5 separate regions of the Homo sapiens genome follow, and regions 1, 3, 4 and 5 are each linked to region 2. The links are contacts of gene promoters, found by promoter capture Hi-C in blood cells and fetal thymus (Javierre and others, 2016). All regions are on one chromosome and are shown on one strand. Each heading gives the region's core, a stretch centred on a gene start or on the middle of the fragment in contact. The rest is flanking DNA. Distances are from core to core; before and after follow the strand shown.

Region 1 (2,700 bases), core at 126-2,625, 71 kb after region 2:
ATGGGCAATATTGGTCCAACCTGCACCCTGCTCATTAGAACCAGACTTCACTTGGAGGCATCTCACACATTCAAGATGATCACAACAACTCAACATTCAGCCTTGTAGTGGCACTGGCATATTCCAAATCCACACCCACCTGGTATGGATTTATGCTGCCACTGAATGGAGCAGATACAGCTGGCAATGTCAGGTGGCCTCCTCCATACACACTGAGCTGGGATTGTGCTGTCTGCCTGACCAACTATGCCTGCACAAGGGCAGCTACTCCAGAAATATAGGGACTTGACTCATCCCTTTGGCATAAGAGGACACTGCCCTTGATAGAGATCCTAGGAAAACAGAGTGTTCTGCAATAGCAGCTGGAGCGATCATGCCCTTCTCTGACACCCACCTCACATCTCAGTCTTATCAAGCTGCAGTGAAAGACATATTCCTGCTTTTCAACTTTGTTTCCCTTTCTGTCTCTTATTCCTTTCATTTATCATTTCTGAGCACCCACGGGGCTTCAGACTCTCTTCAATCCATTTCCATTTGACTCTCTTAGAATCCCTACAGGAAACAGCCAAAAGGCCTGAAACGGGGAAGGGAGCAAAAGTACATAAGGAACACTGTGAGTTTAGGTCTTTCCAGCTTGCTTGGCTTCACAGTTAGTCATGTCTCCTTTCCAAATATCAGCTTCTCATAGCTGTCACGCATCTCCCTGCTTCAGGGAGTTTTACAACGACTGACAGAAGGAACTTTATGAATCTTAAAAAACAGTCAAGTTTCTGTCTCTTCCCAGCGGGGTGCAGCGGCAAACACACCAAAGCCAAATCTTTCTATCTGCTCTAATTATCAGCCAGGATACAAGTCACCACAAGGAGAAAGGTATTAAGCCGTGTATCTGAAACTCTTTGGAATTAATTGTAATCCCTTGCCTGGTGGTTTCAGTGACAGGGAATGGACACAGTGGATGTTTATTTCTGTCTATCCTTTCTCTCCCCGCCTCTCTCTCTGTAGTTTTGCATCTATAGAAGCAAAAGGAGATGACAGACAGGAAACAGAGAGGGATTTGAAATAAGACCTCAGATTCCCATTCAGGTTTCATTTTTTCCCTCTCCACTTTCATTTAAAACCCATTCTGAACCAAATACCACATACCTATTCAAACTCCGCTCTCAATTTTCCTCTTTATTGTGGATGATGCTGGTGGAAACGGCCTCGGCTATACCAAGAATAATTTAAGATTGAGGTAAGGAAGGACTTCTGACAGGGAATGCTACTAAACATTAGAACAGGTTACTCAGGGGAGTCATTTGGAAAGGATGACCTCCCCCTCAAAAAAGTTAGGGCATCACCTCCAGAGAAGACACTGAAAGCAGGAAAGATTCTGACTTTCCAGGGTCAAGGTCAGCTGTACACGCAGCAGGGAGACAGACCTAACAACTCAGGGTCCAAAAGAAAATCTGTGAATATTGAGGTTAAAGAAGAGAAAGGACCTCAGAGGACACCACTTAACTTTAAGCAATATCTGGTTCTTTAAAACCTGACACTGGGGTGACATTCCAGAATTTCCAGTATACTGCTGTGTCTTGTTACACTTACTTGGATGGACAGTCAAGATGGTCCCTTGTCCAAATGTCAGCTTTCCATAGCTAGTACCACCAGCATTAGCACTGCACTGGAGGCCTTTACAAGAACCCTAGGGGGACTTCTGAAGCTCGCAGACTTCCTCCTCTTTTAATTCTGGGGAGAATAAACTCACCCAAAGGGGCCTGGGTCTGTGAGGCTCAGTTTCATCCCACCAAAGGCTGGAAGACCATTTCCACCTCTGGTCCTGGGACACTGACCTGCTGCGTCCCCCGAGGTCCGGCTTCCTGCCTCCCATCTCTCTCCATTTCCTCTGGTTTTTGTCTTGAGGCTTACTGATTTCTCATGTTCAGCATCTCTCTTTCTAAAGGTCTCATTTCCATTTTACAGCATCATTTTCAGGACAATTTCTCTGATCAGTTTTCAAGACACGTCCTCCCCTCCCCTCGAGGTGTCACACATTTCTGATGACAATGAATTGATTACAAGGAGACAAGAGGAGAGTGTTCAGCTTTTTGGAGAATGACTAGAATTAGATGAGATTTAGACTGTAGCCTCATGAAACAGGATCTCCTGAGCTTCCCTTCATGCCCTAGCATAAGAAATAAAAATGATGGGCACATGTAACTGAGCTTTCACACAACGTAGTTTTTTTGTCAGTCTTGAATTTGGTGAAATGTAAGTAGTAGCTCACAGAAAAAAGTTTTTATCTGTGCCTTCTTACGGTGATTAACTATCCTGGGGATCATTCTGGGCTTAGCAAAGAATGACCTTTGTCCTGGAAAACCCCTGAAACCCAGGAAAACCAGGACATCTGGTTACTCCACAGTCTCACCTGAGGTGTTCTGACCTCACAGAGCAGCCCGGTGACCACAGTGGTAGGGTTAAGTGAGGTCTCTATTAGGGGCAGGCTTTTGCACATTTACTTGGGGTTCCTGTAAATTTCATCCCTTGACCAAATAATGCTTCTGTTGCCAACAGACACAACCACAGGAATCCTGGGAGTCACCCTGGCTGTGTCTGGATGTCACAAAAAATGTGAAGAGCAAAATCCAGGCAGTTTCATGATGTGGTGATGATCAAACCCTGTCCCCCAGGGGTGTGAAAAACAGACACCTCTTTAATAGA
Region 2 (2,700 bases), core at 40-2,539:
TTTCTCAGTATGGCAGTGCCATCTGACCTGGCCCAGCCCATCTTGTTCGGGTCATGGTTCGTCTTCCTGGGCATTCTGATGCATTCCCACTTCATATTTGCACTGGGATTTCAGTTTACTAAGCATTCCACACCCATTACTGCTTTCAATCCCTTCAACAACACTGAGAATAGGTGGGCAGGTATTTTTATCTCTATGTGAATAATAACACATGGGGACTCAGAAAAATTAAAGGCCCCAGGAGAGAAGGCTAGTGAGGGGCAGTGACGCTTAGGGACAAACAACTGGTTCTCCTGCCTCCTGCCTGAGGACTCCTGCCTGAGGAGAATATAGTAACAAAAGCCTCTGTCTTGCAATTGCAGCCATTAACACATCTCTTTCATACCCACTACTCACTGGACTGTTAACTCCTTGAAGACAGAAACTCTGTGTGTGTGTGTGTGTGTGTGTGTGTGTGTATTTAATGGGAGCAGTACTTTCTTGAGGCATAATTACATGAAAATACACTAATGATGCATTTGATATATATATAGCCATCACCCAAGATAAAGATATGGAACATTTCCACCACCCCTGAAGGTTTCCTCGTGCCCCTTTTCAATCCATCCTTCTACCCCAGAGGCAAACAGTGCCCTAATTTCTATCACCTGTGATGCGTTTTGCCTGTTCTTGGACTTCATCTGTATGGAGTCATAGTTTGCACAGAGACTGAATCCCCAGAGCACGACACAGCCTGGCACATGGCAGGTATACAATGCCAAAGAAAGCCTGGTTCTTAAACTACCTGTGAGAGAGAGTTCGTCCCACCGGGAAACTGAGGCGGTGGGCGGTTAGTGACCTGCCAAAGGCACGAGTGTATGATGTGGTGGATCCCGGACTCCAGCCAGCCTAATTCCGAACCCAAGGCCTCCTCCGGGCCCCCAGCCCTCCCTGGGCACTTCCTCCAGGGCTCCGGGTGGAGCGGGTCTGACGATCCCGGACGAACAGCGCCCCCTGCTGCCGGCCCAGGCCCCAGGCCCTCCTCTCCTTTGGGGGGGGATGTGACAGGATGACACAGGCCTTGCGCCCAGCGCAGTGACGGGCACAGGGCAGGGACTTGTGGGATAAAAGTCACCTGCCCTTTTATTTTCCTCGGAAAAGAGCTTTTCCTAAACTTTGGGGGCTTTCTATCTCCAGAATTAACAGACAAAGGGAGAAGAGGTCTTTTTGGTGGAGCGCTGCTGCCCCCATGCGGGTGGATGGCGACACTACCGAAGAGCAGGCGATCAAGCCTGGTATTTTTGGGTTTCAGGTTCTGCGGCTCCCTGAGACCAGCAGATTCCTGGTCTCCGGGTCCCTGGGTCCCGGACGTGTCCATCAAGGCGTCCATTAGGGCCATCACCTAATGGACAAGCATCAGGGTAAGGGGGGAGGTGCTATTGGGGGGGGGTCCCTCAGAGAATCAGCCCTAGCTCTGTGTGGGGGCAAATACGGCCTCCCCACCTCCTTCCCTCCCAGGAGACACTGGCCTGAGCATAAGTCTCGAGGGTCTGCCCTGTACTAAGCAAGCGCTTAATCAGGTGAGATCAAGGTCTGATCTTGGCTGGTTTGGAGGGGCAGCAGAGGTGCGGTGAGGGAGGCGGCTCAGCGGTGGGGCCAGCAGCACCTCCCCAGCCTGCTTGCGGGCCCGGTGCAAGTCACCGAGGGGCCGGCAGCCCCTCCCAGCCTGGCATGTTGGCCTTGCTGCACCTGCGGTTGGGGGGTGGTGTAACGGCCCAGCCTGCTCCCCTCGGCACGTGGCCTGGGGCGATGCTATCTCTAACTCAGTATTTTAAACTCTTCTTTCCAGAGGATGTGGCTTCTGCGGGAGAGCTTCAAAGGGTGCCCTACTTGCCCCTCTTGGTAACCATGACGTCATGGAAATGGGAGGGGACCGCCCCAGCCCCCAAACACCTGGAGGGAAGTGGGAGACTTTTTCCACTTCCTGTTCTACTTGTGGCTACTGACTCAATGTCTGACCTGTTTATTAATTGCAAAATATAGCTCTATGTGTGCTACCCAGAGAGGCCTCAGGCCTGTGTGTCTCTGTGTGAAAGGAGGCCTGCACTCCCCACCCCTCGCCGCGTTGCCCAGGTGGCCTTGACACAGACGCAGGGCGCTGGTGGTCCTGCAGCCTTCCGGCAGCCAGAATGACAGCACTGGGTCTCCATGTGCTTGCTCCCCCAGACTCATCCCAGTCAGAAGCTCGTCTTCCCACACATGGCTCACGGAGGTAGATGGGTTTTAGAGTAGGACTCATGGAGAAACTGAGGCGAACCCACATAAAGTGACTGTTGGCTCTGGACCTCAGTGTGGTCACACAGTGAGGTCAGACTCCCAGGTACCCTGCGTGATTTACCACAGTCCCTGTCCTCCAGGCTTTGTTGGATAGATGTGTGCCTGCCTGGGGGCTGCCCTGAGCAAGGGGCCACCACTCAGGCTTTCCTTGTTCTGAAGTTCTTGACAAGTTACTTTAGCTCTTGGCAAAACTGTGAAGCATTGACTCACCTGACCACTTCCTCTACTAATCCCCACTTTCCTTTCTCCTGTACTCCCCACTCCTCACACTCAGCTCCCCCCACCCAGAGCCTAACTGCAGGAGTCATTCACTTATTCATTTAACGGCATCTGTTGTGTGCCAGGCACTGTTCTAGTTCCTGGGGACACATTGATGACAAGGGA
Region 3 (2,700 bases), core at 139-2,638, 93 kb after region 2:
ATAAACCCCCCTTCCCCAGGACTTTTGTCTTCCCATCAAGCTGGAGGATGAGCTGGGTTTGTTGTCTTTGAAGAAAAAGTGGTTTGGCTAGCAGCCATTTTAACAAGGCTATGACAGGTCAACTTGAATCACAAAGAAGTCAGAAGCCAAGGAGATGCATTTTTGTAAGCCTTTGGTTTCTTCAGGAGTGTAGCTTCCTCATGCCAGTCAGCCTGCAGTGAAGAAAGTTGTTATAGAATAGACTGCCAGTGCTAGAAGGAATCGTAGGGGTCATGTAGTCTGGGGTTGGCCGGTACTTGCTATACTGTACCATTGCAGACATCACTAATCTATTGTGGCTCACTTTCCATGTACACATGGCAATAGCTCAGCTAGTTCAGCTATCAGTGTTGGCACAAGTCATGAGACTCTTTTGTTCTCCTTTGGTTATTATTTTTTTTAACTCATTTGTTTTGCAGATGCAAAAACCCAGGCCCAGAGAGATGAAGAAACCTGGCTAAGGTAACATGTAAGTTAGTGTCAAAATCAGGATAAAACCCAGATCTTCTGACTCTTAGTATAGCTCTCTTTTTACCCAGCCACACTGCCTGTGTCCCTGGGACTGTTAGTAAAATAACAGGTGAGCTGGACCCCCTTTTTGAGATGACTGGGTATGTTTACTGTCTGGGTCAGATCAGTCAAGTACTCTGAGTCTAGGGTTGTTCCTAGAACAGAAGCTGGGGTTGATGAGCATTTGTGAGTATTGGAGAAGGAGTGAGGGGGAGAAGCCTCACACGCAAACCCAGGCCCTGGTTTCAATTTCGTGTATGAGATTACCTGAGAACGGAATGCAAGTAACAGGCAAATAATTGACATCTCAAACCTAACTGTGTATGCATCCTGAGTAGCTAATAGTGAGCTGTTCACTACTAATGCTGTGTGTAGGTTCATCCCAAAGACAGGCTGATCCACACATAGACAGGCTGGTCCTATGATTAAGGAGTGTGAGCTGGCATTCCCTTTATCAGGACAAAGATAGGTTCTGCTTCCTCTGGATAGTCTTCAGGCAAAGCTTTACTTATGGCCTTGCAAATAACCCATGGTCTCTTGGTCGATGAACAAAATAGCAGTAAAGAAGATGAATTCTCCTTATTTATCTTCAGTTTTCTCCCTGGAGTGAAAGTGAGGGTTATTCTCTGGTATATTAGAAAAATAGTACATTATACTACCTAATGGGTTTCAGTCTGACTCAAAATGAAAGGATAACAGGAAATGGGGTGCTGTTTTGCTGAGTAGCTGAGATAGCCTACCTTATTAATTCTAAGTATGTCTCTATTTTCCCTTTCCAATGCTTCTTGGTTTCTTAGCCATTTCTAAATCCCCTTTCCCCATGTGCAGCATGGTGTGGGTAGAGATAGGAATAAGAAGCGGCTAATTCTTACCTTACAAGAAAAATAACTTGGCAGTCAAGAGAAAATTGACGGCAACAGTCTTTGCAAACAGCATTCGTAGCCCAAGCACTGTGAGGGACATCATGTTCACCTTCTCGGTATGAACTATGGCTGAAAAAGAGTGAAGAGGGTGGCTTCAGGGAGAGATTAAATTCCCTTCCAGAAATTGGGCCTGCAACACTGATATTAGCCTGCCCCAAGTCTGCCTAGTTCTTTCTGGCCTGCAAGTCCAGCATGGTGCCAGATAGCCGTCAGAGACCTTAGGCTGCTGCTGACACCCAGCCAGGCAAGCTTGGGAAACCGATGCCGACAGCCAGGTAAGCCTTGCTGGGAGAGTCAGAGGCTCTGCAGAACCAACTGGGCTCAGCATGGTTTGTGTTTTCTTTTGAAATCTGATACATTTTGGCCCCAGTGGACAATTACAGAGTTTGCTTTAACCCTTGATTCTGAAGTTGGCCCTTTGATTTGAACTAACCTTTGGGTTTATGGCAGCTCTTTGAAGGTTGCTTTGTGTTTTCAGTTTCCTTTGGTTTTACGTGATCTGGAACAAACAGCAGTGGTCAGGGTTACATTGGGAATGAAGAGGCTCACAGGATTGTAGGCTTTTAAAACTGGAGGAGACTTTGGGTGAGTGAACTGAGGACCAGAGGATGTGACTTGGTGAAGGTCACATAGCTAATTATACAACATGCTTCCCATTCTAGCCTTTTTCATTGTACCATGAGGTCAACATCCAGGCACACCAATATGCGGGAAGAACTAGGATTCTTAGCCCCACAATAGGCCGCATTGCCCTTTGTTGGAATTTAGCACTGGATTAGAATGCACGAGGACTTTCAATCCCAGAGTCTAGTATGAAGGGGACAGTGGTAGGTAAAGAGGAGAGATGAGGAAGAAATAAGATGGGCTTTATTTTAGATTCCATCTTAGGGATGACAAGCATTTCCCTCCCCTGCCAATGGCAGGCTATAGTTGGGCCTAAGTCTTATTTCCAGCATGATGCTATACTGAGAATGATTTGTCCACAGTTACATCTCTAACTTCCCTTTCACCCAATTCTTGTTCCCCATAATCTCCAGCTCCTTGAAGCTAGAAATGGCCTACCTGTAGAATCTGTCTTCACTTCAAAGTCAGTGGAGTGCACAGTTTTATTGTCGTGTTGAACTGAACATGTCACTGAATTTGAATCTTCATATTTACCAAGCTTGACAGCATTGTACTTCCCACTGGGAGAGATGACAATAGCAGGATCAAACTCTGTTATCTTCTT
Region 4 (2,700 bases), core at 73-2,572, 120 kb after region 2:
GGTTTATTAGCCAAGCTGTATAGTTAGATCTGACTGCGGGTGTCAGGGTGATGGTGTAAATACTGCTGAACAAGGAGATCCTTCCTCCATATGTGATGGAGACCAAATGTCTTTGGGTGTGGAAGACAAAGAGTCATGGCAGAATTATCCTAACGCTTCCTGGCAAGCAATTTATCCAGAGAGAGTCATAGTAGGAAGAAAGCTTTTCCATTGTTTTTCCATTAAAATAGAGGTTAGTAAATCTTGGTACAAAATTGTCTCCCCTCTACACAGTCAATTGGCATTGATAGCTGAGTTAATTACTGTATCTAGGAGACAGTCTCAATTTTTATCATTGAATTCTGTGTATGCAGAAGCAATGCACAGGAACTGGGGAAATATATTCAAATGGAAATATAGAGTGATTTAAGACTTGCTTTATACATAGTCTTTGGCATCTTTGTGTTGGAGAGGGGAAGGTTTTCATCTGGAGTCACATTCACTTATGCCACTTTGGGCCTCCACACTAACACAAGAGTGTGTTGGCTTGTACTTGGTTACTTCTGAGTAGATGAGGCTTGCCATAAACCCACTGGAGAATGAGGTATGATATTAGGAAGACAAAAGTAGACTACAGAGTTGGAGTCGTCTAAGGTGACAGTGCTTTTTCTTCCATTGAAGGTGTATGATCTGGATATCTCCCATTTATAGTCCACAGAACTGCTACATTGGAGTCTTTACCCAGGAGCCTCAGAGGACTCAAATATCCTGAAGAATCTAAGATTCAGTTCTGAGCCTTTACAGGAGCAATATGTTGATAGCTCAACCTTTTCCAATAACAAGTCACAGTGATGAAGTAGCTGGACCTGGATTTACGCAGGAACTCCTTAGTCTTTTGGAGCCAGACACTTTTAAGGGTCATAACATCAGTGGAGTTCAGGCTCAGTCTCAAAATGCTGCTCTGAGAAAAATGCTCACAAACGTCGCAAGGTGGTGCTAAATTTCAGACACACATGAGTTTGGGGTGGGACAGAGAAGCAAGCAACAGCAACAACAAAAAAACCCTCCAAAACAGAGTAAGGAGACCCGTTTTACATCACTTTCCTATTGAGATATAAATGGTCTTAGAATGATCATTGTTGGAGGTGTAAGGCTCAGGGTGGGAGAGAGTGGGAGGAGAACTAAGAGGTGGGAAATTTGAAGAGAATCAATACTCTGAGTAGATATCAAAGTATGATTTTAAAAAATATAGGCTCAAGGATTAAGAACAGACTGAGATATTTATAAATAAATGCTGCAGAAAACACCAAGTGAATGACTGGGTATGGAACAATAATATTGAGATCTTTTTTTTTTTTTTTTGAGACTGAGCCTCACTTAGTTGTCCAGGCTGGTCTTGAACCCCTGGCTCAAGCAATCCTCCCACCTCAGCCTTCTGAGTAGATTGAGAGTGTCTTTTGCTGATGTCCTGTTCCAAGGCAGTGCAGGCTTGAGCTCTTTGCTCCTGACAGCTGCCTGGGATAACAGAGAAATGAAGGAGGAAATCTCTTTATAAAGGTTTCTAAAGAAATTAAAAAAATTAACTTGTACATTGACTTTGTAATGGAAGTGAGAACATACAGGAAAGCCCTTTGGGGAGTTAGCTTTAGAAGGGAAATACCGGGAAATACAAGTAAGACAAGGCACTTACAGAAAAAGTAGAAATTTCATGTTTAATAAATGGTCAAATTTAACATAGCTCTGAATATATAATTTTCCATTAGAATATTGGTAACAACATTGCAGTAAACTTGAGTCTGGGTACCCCGCACTGAGTAAAAATGGTAGATTCTATTTTGTGTGAGTTCAGTCAAAGAGACATGGGGGACAATTAGTCCGGTCTCTGCTTCTGTTGTTTAGCAGAGCCTCCAGCCCGGAAGCACACTGAGATGTCTTGTGTTTTTCAGATCTTTAATTTTTGAATGCTGTACTGTACCCAAGGACCTCGCTTTTTTTCACTGTGCATATGCATGATGTGGGACATCCCATATTGGAGACACAGATGACTTATTGAAAGCCCTGCCTAAGACTTAATTAATATCAGCATTTCAAGTAGCTTGCAAGATTGGATTCTGTGGCTATATACTATAGGAATATAGACTTCCTGGTCTTTTTCTTACTGCCTCCAAATATAACCAGATAATCCTCTGTCTGGTTTCTTGGGAGCCACTTGTATCTTACTTTCTTGCAGGAACATTCTAAAGGGTTCCTTCAGAAAACTTGGGAAAGTGTAAGACTAAAGACAAACCACAGCCTGAAGCCTAGGCTGCTGACTTGAGCACAGATGGGAGAATGTTAACAGCCAAGAAATATGAGGTCTTTGGCTCTTTTCCCAGAACTGCCAGGCTAAGACCTTGGCAGAGACTCAACAGGAAACTGAACTCTATTTGCATATCCTTTTATACATGGGAGATTAAAAGCTTCAACCTTGAGTGATCACAGTTTTTGAGAATCATGATGAGGCATTAAAGAAGAGGAGGAGTGTCTCAAGGGAGGTGAGCTGGAGGTGATGCAAGGTAGGTGTGAGGTTAGCCACGACTTTCAATCCCCTTTGATTAATCAAGAGTGTATTTCGTTTAGTTCCTTTTTTCGATTTTATCCTTACTGGGTCACATAAAGGAATCAGCTGCAGGAATCCATACTCCTGTATCTCAGGAATCTTTCAAATTTGTTCTCCTATGT
Region 5 (2,700 bases), core at 32-2,531, 96 kb before region 2:
ATACAATTTAAGAAACTAACTCCAAAGTCTGATTTCTTTGGTCTACAAAAGCCACCCTTTCCTTTAGTGCTTACAATTACTAGTCTAAGCCCTTGTCGTGATCAGCCACTGCAACTTTAGCAGTTTTCTGGTTCCCCTCACATGTAACCATCAGCGAAGGCTTACATTTCCTGCAGATCCCTGCTGCTTCTGGGGATCTGCTGGTCACTTCTGGCTACCTTGTGATGAGTTTCTCCAACTGCTCCTGTTTTCCCCGCCCCTCCTCATACCAAGTGCGGACCCACCAAAACCAAGATGGCAATGAGAGTGACCTCTGATCATCCTGACTACTACACTCTTACCAATGCCATGACATTATCTGCCGAGTATGTCAGGCCCATTGTAACCCCTGTTTCATTGAAAGCTTTGGAATAACAGGAGGGGATTGTGTAGGAAAGAGGGAAAAAATCCAATGAGATATAGGAGATTATTGTTCTTAAAGTCCACCAGCCATTCATCTGGATAGGGTATTTTGTTTTTTCTCTCCCACTGCTCATCTCTCTTTCTGCTGCCACATTATCATGAGACTTATCTTCTGTCGTGGAGTGTCTTTGCTCATGTCTGTCACTGGTCCATTTGCTATGACTCCCCTGCCAGGTGCTGGACCCTGATCAGGAGGCCCAGTGAGAAGGGAAAACCCCATGGTGGCCCCAGACTCACCTCTCAAGACACATCCTAACCTGTAGAGAGGGATCTCTTCCCACAGTGCAGGCCATCTCAGCGTCATGAAGGTGAGCTGTGTAGCTCAGCACGGTCTTAAGCTACTGAGAATATGATTTTGGCTTTACTGCCATAAAGCCATTGAAGTGTTTTTCAAAAACAAACAAACAAATAAACAAACAAAGTCTCCTCCAAAAGTGGAATCAGAAAATTCCTGGTAATTTAAAAAACAACTTTCCCTGGCTTCTTGACATTACATTTTCAAAAATATAGATGCTCAAGCTCATTAAAACAGTCTAGTACATTTTTTCTCCCTTAAATATATTTTATTACATCTTACAAAAATTAGCAGGCTCGTAAAACATCTGGGAAGAGAACGGTAGGGCCATCCAAGGGAAGGCCGGGGACCTGTCTTTGTCTTTGAAGGCTCACAGTCTGGGGCTGGGTGGGTTGTGTTTTGAGGCGTCATTAACAAAAATGTTCTCAAGAGTGACATGTTATTAATTTGGATGAGAAATAAGACCATTAGACCAAAATGCTCTTCCCAGTGTATTCACAAATCAGCCCTCTTTTCCTTAGTCTGAACCTTGCTGAAATCCCTTTGACCCTTTGGAAAAGAAAAGTGTAATATTTCATCTCAGTCAATGGATGTTTAGTCTGGAGAAGTCTTGGGAAGCAAGCAGTACTTTGGCAGGGAAAAAATGTCCCCGAGTCAGTCTGCCTGTCAGGGAATAGGCAGTGGTTTGTCCGCTGGATAAGCCCAAAGTTATCCAAAAGAGAGGGACAGCCACTCCCTGGTTAAATTCCTTCCTGGAATGGAGCTCCCCGGGAACTAGGAGGCAATGTCAACAATGAGGTGTGCTTCCCTCCTCTTCCACCAGGAGTCTGCCACGAGCTGGTGAGGAAGGCACTGTGAACACTGCAAAAGGTTAGAGATGCCCAAGAGGTGCTGTCAGTAAGTGCTGGGGTAGTTGCTAAGAATTTAGAAATGAGGGATATGGATGGTCCCAACTAGGAGGCTCTTAACCTTTTCTGGGTCAAAAAGCCATTTGAGAATTTGACTGTTCTCATCTCCCTCTCAATCTACATAAACACACAATTTTTTGTATAATTTTATTTATTCATTTACTTATTTATTTTGATGGAGTTTTGCTCTTCTTGCCCAGGCTGGAGTGCAATGGTGCGACCTCAGCTCACTGCAACCTCCACCTCCCTGGTTCAAGCGATTCTCCTGCCTCAGCCTCCCGAGTAGCCGGGATTACAGGCGTGTGCCACCAAGCTGGGCTAATTTTGTATTTTTAGTAGACACGCGGTTTCTCCATGTCGGTCAGGCTGGTCTCAAACTCCCGACCTCAGGTGATCCACCCGCCTCGGCCTCCCATTACAGGCATGAGCCACCGTGCCTGGCCTTTTTTGTATAATTGAAGAACAATTCTGAAGCTAGAACACTCTGAAGCTTCTGCTCTAGACTAAAAATGCCTGGAGGGGAAGGACTGGATTTGTTCTCTAATGTGTTCCAGCATGTACCAAAAGTGCCTAAGATATAGGAGGTGTCAATGAATGTTTATTAAGTGATAAGATGCAGACGTGCCTGTCAGCCGCTGCAGAGTCCAGGCTGAGGTGTGCAAATGCCAGCGGCATCAGTGCCTCGAGGTGCTTTGAGGCTGGCAGTACTTGCATCCCTGGCACTATTTTTCTTTTTCTTTTCAATTTTTCAATTTTTTTTTTTTTGAGATGACGTTTCGCTGTTGTTGCCCAGGCTGGAGAACAATGGCACGATCTTGGCTCACTGCAACCTCCGCCTCCCGGGTTCAAGCGATTCTCCTGCATCAGCCTCCTGAGTAGCTGGGATTACAGGCACCCACCACCATGCCTGGCTAATTTTTGTGTTTTTAGTAGAGACGGAGTTTCACCTTGTTGGCCAGGCTGGTCTTGAACTTCTGACCTCAAGTGATCCACCCTCCTTGGCCTCCCAAAGTGCTGGGATTACAGGCATGAGCC

Evidence for each region. Contacts are between HindIII fragments. The CHiCAGO score rates a contact against its expected background, and 5 or more counts as called.
Region 1: a contact is called between a fragment that was not itself captured here and the fragment with the promoter of LINC02332 in region 2, in 1 of 17 cell types (total B cells). The highest score is 6.3, in total B cells.
Region 3: a fragment that was not itself captured here is called in contact with the fragment with the promoter of LINC02332 in region 2 in 1 of 17 cell types (total B cells); the score reaches 5.7 in total B cells.
Region 4: a contact is called between a fragment that was not itself captured here and the fragment with the promoter of LINC02332 in region 2, in 1 of 17 cell types (total B cells). The highest score is 5.0, in total B cells.
Region 5: a contact is called between a fragment that was not itself captured here and the fragment with the promoter of LINC02332 in region 2, in 3 of 17 cell types (M0 macrophages, M2 macrophages and M1 macrophages). The highest score is 12.9, in M0 macrophages.

The regions. Positions count from the first base shown.
Region 1 is chr14:22,485,184-22,487,883 of GRCh38, reverse strand. It overlaps TRA, TRAJ52 and the pseudogene TRAJ51. Among named protein-coding and RNA genes, the nearest start is that of TRD-AS1, 3.6 kb to the right of the region's middle. The HindIII fragment of the contact is 4,249 bases long and covers 1-2,700 here.
Region 2 is chr14:22,555,651-22,558,350 of GRCh38, reverse strand. LINC02332 (long intergenic non-protein coding RNA 2332) reads left to right here and starts at 1,289. Exons shown (of 3, transcript NR_146543.1): 1 at 1,289-1,400; 2 at 1,498-1,559; 3 at 1,829-2,040. LOC105370399 (a long non-coding RNA gene) reads right to left here and starts at 1,785. Exons shown (of 2, transcript XR_007064066.1): 1 at 785-1,785. RefSeq lists enhancers at 684-893, 1,754-2,093, 2,144-2,243 and a silencer at 1,594-1,643. The HindIII fragment of the contact is 9,123 bases long and covers 1-2,700 here.
Region 3 is chr14:22,463,045-22,465,744 of GRCh38, reverse strand. The region is part of intron 2 of TRD-AS1 (TRD antisense RNA 1); the gene reads left to right. It also overlaps TRA, TRD and TRDC. Among named protein-coding and RNA genes, the nearest start is that of TRD-AS1, 19 kb to the left of the region's middle. RefSeq lists enhancers at 1,010-1,229, 1,652-2,700. The HindIII fragment of the contact is 670 bases long and covers 1,054-1,723 here.
Region 4 is chr14:22,432,500-22,435,199 of GRCh38, reverse strand. The region is part of intron 2 of TRD-AS1 (TRD antisense RNA 1); the gene reads left to right. It also overlaps TRA and TRD. Among named protein-coding and RNA genes, the nearest start is that of TRD-AS1, 49 kb to the left of the region's middle. RefSeq lists an enhancer at 1,800-1,859. The HindIII fragment of the contact is 2,236 bases long and covers 205-2,440 here.
Region 5 is chr14:22,652,100-22,654,799 of GRCh38, reverse strand. No RefSeq gene overlaps it. Among named protein-coding and RNA genes, the nearest start is that of OR6J1, 9.1 kb to the right of the region's middle. The HindIII fragment of the contact is 1,752 bases long and covers 406-2,157 here.